Regions from separate parts of the Homo sapiens genome. Here regions 1 and 2 are each linked to region 3. The links are contacts of gene promoters, found by promoter capture Hi-C in human tissues and cell types (Jung and others, 2019). All regions are on one chromosome and are shown on one strand. Each heading gives the region's core, a stretch centred on a gene start or on the middle of the fragment in contact. The rest is flanking DNA. Distances are from core to core; before and after follow the strand shown.

Region 1 (2,700 bases), core at 56-2,555, 800 kb after region 3:
TTTCAAATACTTCATGGTTTCTTGACTTGTTCAATCACACGGCCTTCTTTGCCAGGCTGCTGTAATAGCCACTCACATGTCCAAAACCTTCAATTAGGGAACTCTATATTCTGGCCACAGATAGAGAGAGTTGTGTGGATGCTGCCATTTGACAATACAGAGGTACTTCCTCCCTTTCACACCAAACCGATAGGGTCTCATGGGGCCCAGCCTCTCCTACGGCCACTCTCTCTCACCCACAGCATGCTCCAGTTCCAATCCCTAAGTGCCTCAGCTTTCCCCCAGGCTGCAAGACACTGCCAGAGGAAACAGGCCCTCCCCACAAAGTCACGTGCGGTGACCCCAACAGGGCCCTCAGGTAGATGTTCCTGCTCATTGCTCTCAGCCCCATTATATCATTGCTGCAGCCATTCCAAGTCCCGGAAGACCTCGCCCAACATGTTCTTGTCCTGGGCTCCACCTTCACCACGCCTCTGTCTGCAGAGACCCCAGGGAGTTCCTGCAAGGAACGCAGTTCCAGAAAAGGGCTAAGCTCACATCTCTTCTAAGGCTTCACCCATTTTTTTCTCTGCTCTCCTATCTTTAGTCTCTCCCTGTCTTGGCTCGCTAGCTGAGACTGTTCTTTCCTTCCTCTTTCCACACCTCCTTCCATTCAAAAGAGGAAACGCCTCCAAAGAGGAGCCCTACACCCAATGTCCCAATTTCCTCATAGCTTCCGAAACCCGCGCCTTTACAGCCAGGCTTCCTCCACACTCTAACGGACCTGATCAGTTGCCTCTTCCCATGATGACCTTCCCTGCCTCCCACACGCCCTTCTCCTGCAAGTCCACAGCTCCCTGAAACTCCTGCTTTCACATCTCCAGAGTCTTGTGGATGCTGTTCTTCTACCTGGAATTGCCATCAAAGTCCAACAAAACACCAGCCCCTTCTAAAACCCAGCCCATACTCTTTCATCTTCACTTTCTCCTCATCCCTACCCACTCCTGCTGAAATTAGAAGTATTTTCTGCAAACCCTAAATTAAGATTCCAATTCTGCGGTACTAAACACTTTCTCCACAGCTCTACAACATTTGTACTGATTCCCTTCCTCCCTTGGATTGGACAATTCTGTCTCAACCACCAGACTAGCTAACAGCAGCTTGCTGAAGTGTGAGCTCAACAGGTATCTGTCCAATGAATGAATTACATCCATAGAAGAAATGATATATAAAAATATATAAAATTAGAAATACAGTTTCATTCATTCTACAAACATGTATCAGGACCTACCATTTACAAGGTAATTCCTAGGGAGTCTATAACATAAATGATAGTACAGTGTATGGTCTCAGATCTCAGAAAGGTTCTAGAGGGGCAATAAGATAGACACAACTGTTTAGCTAAAAGCAAGGCTGGGATTAAGTGATGTGAAATAAGCAAAAGGCACCTCGCAAACCATATGGCACTATTCAAACATTGGGGCACTTTTAAAGTTTTCTTATTGACATTATCAAATTATGCAAAACAAAGTTAGGTAAGGGACAAATCCTGCCTGCAGAGTAACTTGAAATTTTGTGAGGAAATGATTTTAGCAAAAATAATATATTATCCAAAGACTTAGTTTTCATTATGGCAAAGATCTCTGCAAATGCAAAGAAGATATCTATGAATTATACCATGTGGTATGTATGTGTCATTTATTTTTAAGTAGAAAGGCCTAAAAATATCTAGTAGCATTTAGAAAATATTTCACACTTCTTTTTATCACTCCATGAATTTAAAACTAAAAAAATAAATATCCTAGCCTTAATGCAGAAAAGCAAGTATGTAAGTTTCCTACTTGAAATAAAAAGACAAAAGACTCTATGAAGAAGATGGCATTTTCTTGTATAATTTGGACCAGGGAGACAAATGGCCTGCAGCAAGTCTATCCAAGCAGGAGCTCCATCTCCATCAGCAGGGGCCGCCTCCTCTGTCCCTGACAGCTCAGAAGCCCATAGTAAATGCTGTTTGTTGTCAGCAGGACACATGCACCAAGCAATTCCCCTCCCCTGGGCCTCCTGCCCATCCTCTCATCCCACTTCCAATCATGGCTCACTCCCCAAAGCTCCAGGAGAAAATTCTCCCCTGGCACACAGCCCAGCCCTGACCTTGTCCCAGCCCCAACATCCCTGCTGGTCTGGCTGTCAGCCCCCGTGAGGTGGAGAGAGAATCCTGCCTGCACACCGTACAGTGTAGCACAGGCCATGCTATTAGATCTGGGCCATATAACTTCTATCTCATTCAAATAAAATGCAGAAACGCTGATTAATGAAGCATTATAATGTTTATGAAGAAAGAGTTATTGTGGTTGCAATTCCATGATGTCCTTGATTTGTAGATTCTATCAGTTACACAGATTGTCATACTTGCAGACTTCTTCCAGAGTTTGGCAAGAACAAATGGGCTTTTTTTGTGCAGATGACTCATTTACATTTTTAATTATTTTTAAACTACATGAACAATAAATGACTACATTGAACGATTCAAAGAAAAATCAGAGTGTGTTCCCAAAATAGCCTAGGGTGGACCCCTGTCCCCACCAAGTCCTAAACATTAGAGCCCAGCACGCCCCAGTAAGTCACCATAGCCAACACAGATGCAGCCTCCCTGCAAACACCAAGCAGTGCGGGCCTGCAGGACTCAGTGCCTCACAAAACCAGCGGATACCTGTGGTCATC
Region 2 (2,700 bases), core at 158-2,657, 640 kb after region 3:
CTTTGTCACAGTGAAGTAATACTTTTTTTTAGTGGAGTTTCAGAGGGAGAGACATAGATTTGTTTTGTTAGCCATATATTTTCCTGTAATTTTTCAGCTTTACTGAGGAACAAACAAGTAAACATTGTGTGTGTGTATGGTATACAACTGATGATCTGATATACATATCTATAGTGAAATAATCACAAGCAAGCTAATTAACATATCTATCAGTTCACATCATTACCATTTATCTTTTTTTTTTTCCTTTGTGGTAAAAACACTTAAAATCAACCCTCTTAGCAGAATTTCAACTATTTTTTAATGGCTGCCTAGTACTCCACAGAATTGATGAGCCATAATTAACTAAATTAGCCCCTATTGCCTTTAGCTAAATATTAAAATTATTTGGTTTTGGCAATAACAAATTAAACTTCTTAAAACACTCTGTAATTTTATCTTTTCCTCACATTTCTTTTTCTCTCTTTATTTTTCGAGTTTTCAATAAATCCATTTACTAAAACTCCTCAGGTATACAACACATAAAATTCAGTGAAGAGACAAGATCCTAAAATTGCTATCTCAATTTTAAGACTCCTTGTCATGAAGAAGTGATGTTGACTAGATAGCAGAAAAGGAAGCCCCGCACCTCAGTTTCCCCACAAAGACATCAACTTAACAGCAATTTGTAATCCAGAAGCTTTTATGAGAACTCCAGAAACCAGTTAAGAAGGCACAGGACCATAGGCAAGCTTAATGCCAAGAATGGCCATGCTGAAATGGGTAAGAAAAGCCATTTCACCTCAACTGTGACAGCCCTTCCCCTAACCCAGTATCGCTCAGTGTCTGCAGGAGAAAAGCCCAATTCATGGCTTTTCCCTTGGGAAGAAAAGAGAAGAATGGAATGTACATCTAACATTCCAGCTTTTCAGGGGGGCTGCCTGAGGGACTAGTTTATGTCTCGACTGACTGGGAGCACTGATGGGAAACTGGCACACTTTGAATGCCTGGGAGCTACTGAGAAAAAAGGAGCTCAGAGGCTGGTTGCAACAGCAGAGATCTGCCAGTGCCACAGGCAAAGGCCAGCACAGCTCAGTGCAATCAAGAGAAAGCACCCAGCTCACTGCTTATCCCTCGGGAGGAAATGAGTAAAAAGTACATGCAATGTTCTGGATTTGTGGGGAGGCTTGTTCAGGGACTGATTTCTGTCTCAGTTGACCAGGAATACAGACAAAACTGAAATACTATGGATGACTGAAGGCTTTAGAAAATAAGAGAGCTCAGAAGCTGGCCGCAGTGCCAGAAAATCTGCAGTACCATAGACAGATGCAAGAGAGAGCACGAGATTACAAGCTCATAAAGAAGAAATCAGCAAACCTTCTAATTGGAAAATACACCAACAAGCCCAGGGAAGATGGATATCCAGAAAAGGGTTGAGAGGCCCCAAGAATCTCTAGCTGAGCTGACTGACATGTTATTACACTGTAAGAAGCCAGTCCGTAAAGGCTGGAAGAGGTGGCTATTTTGTCAAATGCACAAATTACATTAAAAAATAACAAGGTACATGAAGAAACAGGGAAACATGGCCCAATTAAAGGAACAAAATAAACATCTAGAGAGAAATAACAATAAATGGAAATCTATGGCCAGAAAAGACAAAAAAATTAAAGTTCAGTGCACTACAAGAGAATACTCAGAAAGACAGCTAAACAAAATCAGCAAAACTATGCATGAATAGAATCATATCAATAAAGAGACAGAAACTATAAAAAACAGAAGTTCTGAAGCTGAAAAATAAAATAACCGAACTAAAAAGTTCACTGGAGGAGTTCAACAGCAGGCTGTATTAAGAAGAAGAAGAAATAATCAGTGAACTAAAAGACAGGTCAGTTGAAATTATTGAGTAAAGGAATAAAAAAAAATTCAAAAATTGAACACAGCCTTAAGGACTTTATGGGACAATGCCAAGGGGATGAAAATATGCATTATGGGGATCAGAGAAGGAGAAGAGAGAAAGGGGCAGAGAGTTGATCTGGAGAAGTAATGTCTGACAATTCTCCAAATTGGAGGAAGGAAATAGACATACAAAATTTTAAAAGCTCAAAGGACTCCAACTAGAATAAACCCAAAGAGGACCATACCACAATTCATTAAAATCAAGCTATCAATAGTCAAAGACAAAGAAAGAAACTTGAAAACAGCAAGAGAAATTGATTCATCACTTTCAAGGGAGTCTTATAATATTATCAGTAGGTTTCTCAGTAAAAACTTTGCAAGCCAGAAGAGGGTGGAATGACATATTCAAAGTGCTAAAAACGGAGAAAAAAAACGCCACCTGCCAATCAAGGATACTTAAAAACTTCCAACCAAGAATAGTTTATCTCAGGGGTTCCCAAACCCTGGGCCACAGACCAGTACCAATTCGTGGCTTGATAGGAACCAAGCTGCACAGCAAGAGGTGAGTGGTAAGTGAACAAGCATTACTGCCTGAGCTCTGCCTCACATCACATGAGTGGCCACGTTAGATTCTCTTAGGAGCGCAAACCCTATTGTGAACTGTGCATGCATGGGATCTAGATTGTGCACTCCTTATGGGAATCTAATGTCTGATGATCTGAGGTGGAACAGTTTTATCCCGAAACCATCCCTGCCCCACTGGTCCGTGGAAAAATTGTCTTCCACAAAACTGGTCCCTGGTGCCACAAAGGGTGGGGACTACTG
Region 3 (2,797 bases), core at 203-2,702:
TCAAAACTAGATCTGACCTCTTCTGTCAAGCAGTTCATCCTTTTTTTCACTATACCATTTTGATGTTAAACTCATTTATACAATACTAGAAATGAGAAACTGAAAGAAAGGTGACTCAGAAAACACTTGACACAAACTTTCACAATTAATATTATCATTCTCTTCCTCTCCATGGCTTCATTCCCCTTTATCATCTGTTATCCTGAAATTTCTACCATACCTCAGAGTTCTAGTCACTGTTCTCAGAATAAACCCCCTTCTCTTTTCCATCTTCACCTTTCCTTCAATATTCATCTTCCAAGTCTTACTTCTTCCTTTCAATTCAATCATTTAAATGGCAAATAAGGATAACCAAAAACTGGCCATCACCGATCAGTGACACAACCATTGTCTTGTTTACCATTTCCAAGTCAATTTAACCTTTATGGCCTTTCCTAGATCTAAAAAGTATGATTAATTAGCACTGTCATATGAACTGCATTTCAATCTTCTTTATTTTGCCAATGTTCTGATTATTTTAATAATGTCATTATCTGTCTTCCTAGACAGTTGGCTTCTGCAGGGAGGAATTGTTTTCCATTCCATTCACATTGTCTTAGTACCTAGAATACAGTGTCCTTTGGAATAATAGCTACTAAAATACTGACGGAGTGCCTACTCAGTACCAAGCACTGTGCAAGCCTTTCATAGGATTCTGTTCTTGATGCAAAACGGGAGTTAAGAGCACAGGGTCTGGAGCCAGGCTGCCTGCTTTCAAATCCTGGCTCTATCATCTGCCAGCAGTGACTGCAGGAAAATCTCTTAATGTCTTTCTGCCGGTTTTCACCTATAAAAGAAGCGCAGCAACATCACTGAGCTGACAAGGTATTTTAATTCTGCAAAGCACTAGACAGAGGACTCAGCACTTAGAAAATACTCTATAAAATACTGCTTCTTCTGATTCCTCACGATGACCCCTGAAAGGTATGAGCCCTTCTTTCTCATCACAGAGATTAAGAGCTTGCCTGGGTCACAGGGGAACTGACTGACCCCCGCTGTGGGCGCCCAGAGCCCCGCTGGGCCCAGTAAATGCCTGCGGTAAGCGGCCCCGCCCCCGGACAGGCTCTGCCAAAGGAAGCCGCCCGCAGACCTGGCCCCGAGCCTGCCGTCCACGCCGGGCCCCAGCTTCCTAATCCTGGATGAGTCTGGTTCTGGGCTAGCGGGTCAGCCACCCTCCCGCTAAGACAGAAGCAAAAGGGCACAGCCACTGCCTGGCTCCCGCCTCCCACGGCCTCCCGCGAAGTCACCGCCCCGCGACCCCCAGCATTCCAGAGGCACACGCCCGCCTCTCCCCTACGCCCCAACCCTGATGCTCCACAGGGGTCAGCAGCGCCCCTGCCCCGCCTCCCGTCACCGCATCCTACCTGCGGCTGGTGTGGGACGCTGGCAGCCTCCGAAAAGCGCGGGGACTGACGTGCGCCTGCGCGCTGCTGTCGCCCTCGGACTCGCGCCGTACGTGCGTGCGTGAGTGCGTGAGTGCGTGCGTGCGTGCGTTCGGCGCGCGGGGCGTGGGCGCGGCACCTGGGCCCGGGCACCGCCACCTAGGCCCTAGCTCCGACCAGTGGTGTTCTATAAACGCTTATTACATCATTGTGCATAGGCTTCATTTTTAAAAGTACTCCCAAATAAATACAAGGAGGCGATGGAAATTGAATGAAGATTCGAAGGATTCCCATAGAGCGTGGCTCACTTCCCCTCACCGGGACAGCGAGCGGCGGCTCACCTGGGAGAGCAAAGCGTGGCTCTCCTGCGCCCACCCGGGAGAGCAAACAATGGCTCACCTGCGCCCACCCGGGAGAGCAAGCGTGGCTCACCTGCGCCCACTCGGGAAAGCCAGCCGCCATCCTGTGCTGCAGGCAGGGAGCGGGCGGCGGGAGAGGAGCGGATCCACTTAGGTCAGCGGTTAAAACGTCGTTACAAGAGGCCACCCCGGCATCGCGGGGCCTGTGGCTGCGCCCCCTCTTGAATTCAGGCCTAGCACATCACCTCCGCCCCTCGCACCCTGCAGTCTGCGCTCCATACAGCACGTGAGCGGGTGCTCAGCAATGTTCCCTGGCTGAAAGAACCGCATAGAGTAGCATGCAAAAATGACATGCATGTTTAAGATAAAATAAGGGAGAGGACACCTGTTCTGACTGAGTCTGGCAACTCAGATCTCCCCGCAGCCAACATCTACATTCCTTTGGACAGCTGTCTGCTGTGTAGGGACACCTCCCTGGAACTTTGAAAAGCACCCCATCATTACCTTCCACTTTGTTCTGGAGCAAGGTTTCAAAAGAAGAGTGCCGTATTTTGATTAATTTAGTGAATTGGATTTTCAGACACAAGTAAGAGCATCCACTCAGTGGCCTCTGCAGTAAATAATGATATCAGATCACATAACAAGAAGACTGGAGGTTGGCGGGAAATCTGGACCTGGTGACTCAAAGAAGTCATGAAGGACCATCTCTCCATTCTGCCACCTTCTCGCCTGTGGATTTTCCTCCCCAGGCTTGTCACTTCATTGTCGAGAGATGCCCTCACAATCCAAGCCAGGCAGCCTCACATGACCAGATCTAAAACACAAAGAGGGAGCCAAACTGAGAAAGGACCTTTTCCCTCTGAACACTTCTCTCTTGGAAAAAGAAAATGTTTCCCAGAAAGCCTCATAGCCTTCCTCTTATATCTCCTTGACTAACTGGGACCCGGATCCCTGGATATCCTTTCCTGAGAAAGAGAGGGTCTGGGGCAGGGGATAGAGAAAATGACTAGCAACTAG

What was found. Contacts are between HindIII fragments. The study calls those that stand out against the background at their distance.
Region 1: a fragment that was not itself captured here is called in contact with the fragment with the promoter of FIGNL1 in region 3 in 1 of the 25 tissues and cell types used here (dorsolateral prefrontal cortex).
Region 2: a contact is called between a fragment that was not itself captured here and the fragment with the promoter of FIGNL1 in region 3, in 1 of the 25 tissues and cell types used here (mesendoderm cells).

Annotation. Positions count from the first base shown.
Region 1 is chr7:51,244,373-51,247,072 of GRCh38, forward strand. The region is part of intron 1 of COBL (cordon-bleu WH2 repeat protein); the gene reads right to left. Among named protein-coding and RNA genes, the nearest start is that of COBL, 71 kb to the right of the region's middle. The HindIII fragment of the contact is 5,893 bases long and covers 1-2,700 here.
Region 2 is chr7:51,089,595-51,092,294 of GRCh38, forward strand. The region is part of intron 6 of COBL (cordon-bleu WH2 repeat protein); the gene reads right to left. Among named protein-coding and RNA genes, the nearest start is that of COBL, 230 kb to the right of the region's middle. The HindIII fragment of the contact is 4,707 bases long and covers 1-2,700 here.
Region 3 is chr7:50,448,898-50,451,694 of GRCh38, forward strand. It overlaps FIGNL1 (fidgetin like 1), which reads right to left and starts at 1,453. Exons shown (of 4, transcript NM_001287492.4): 1 at 1,404-1,453; 2 at 221-826. RefSeq lists silencers at 974-1,268, 1,410-1,599. The HindIII fragment of the contact is 15,882 bases long and covers 1-2,797 here.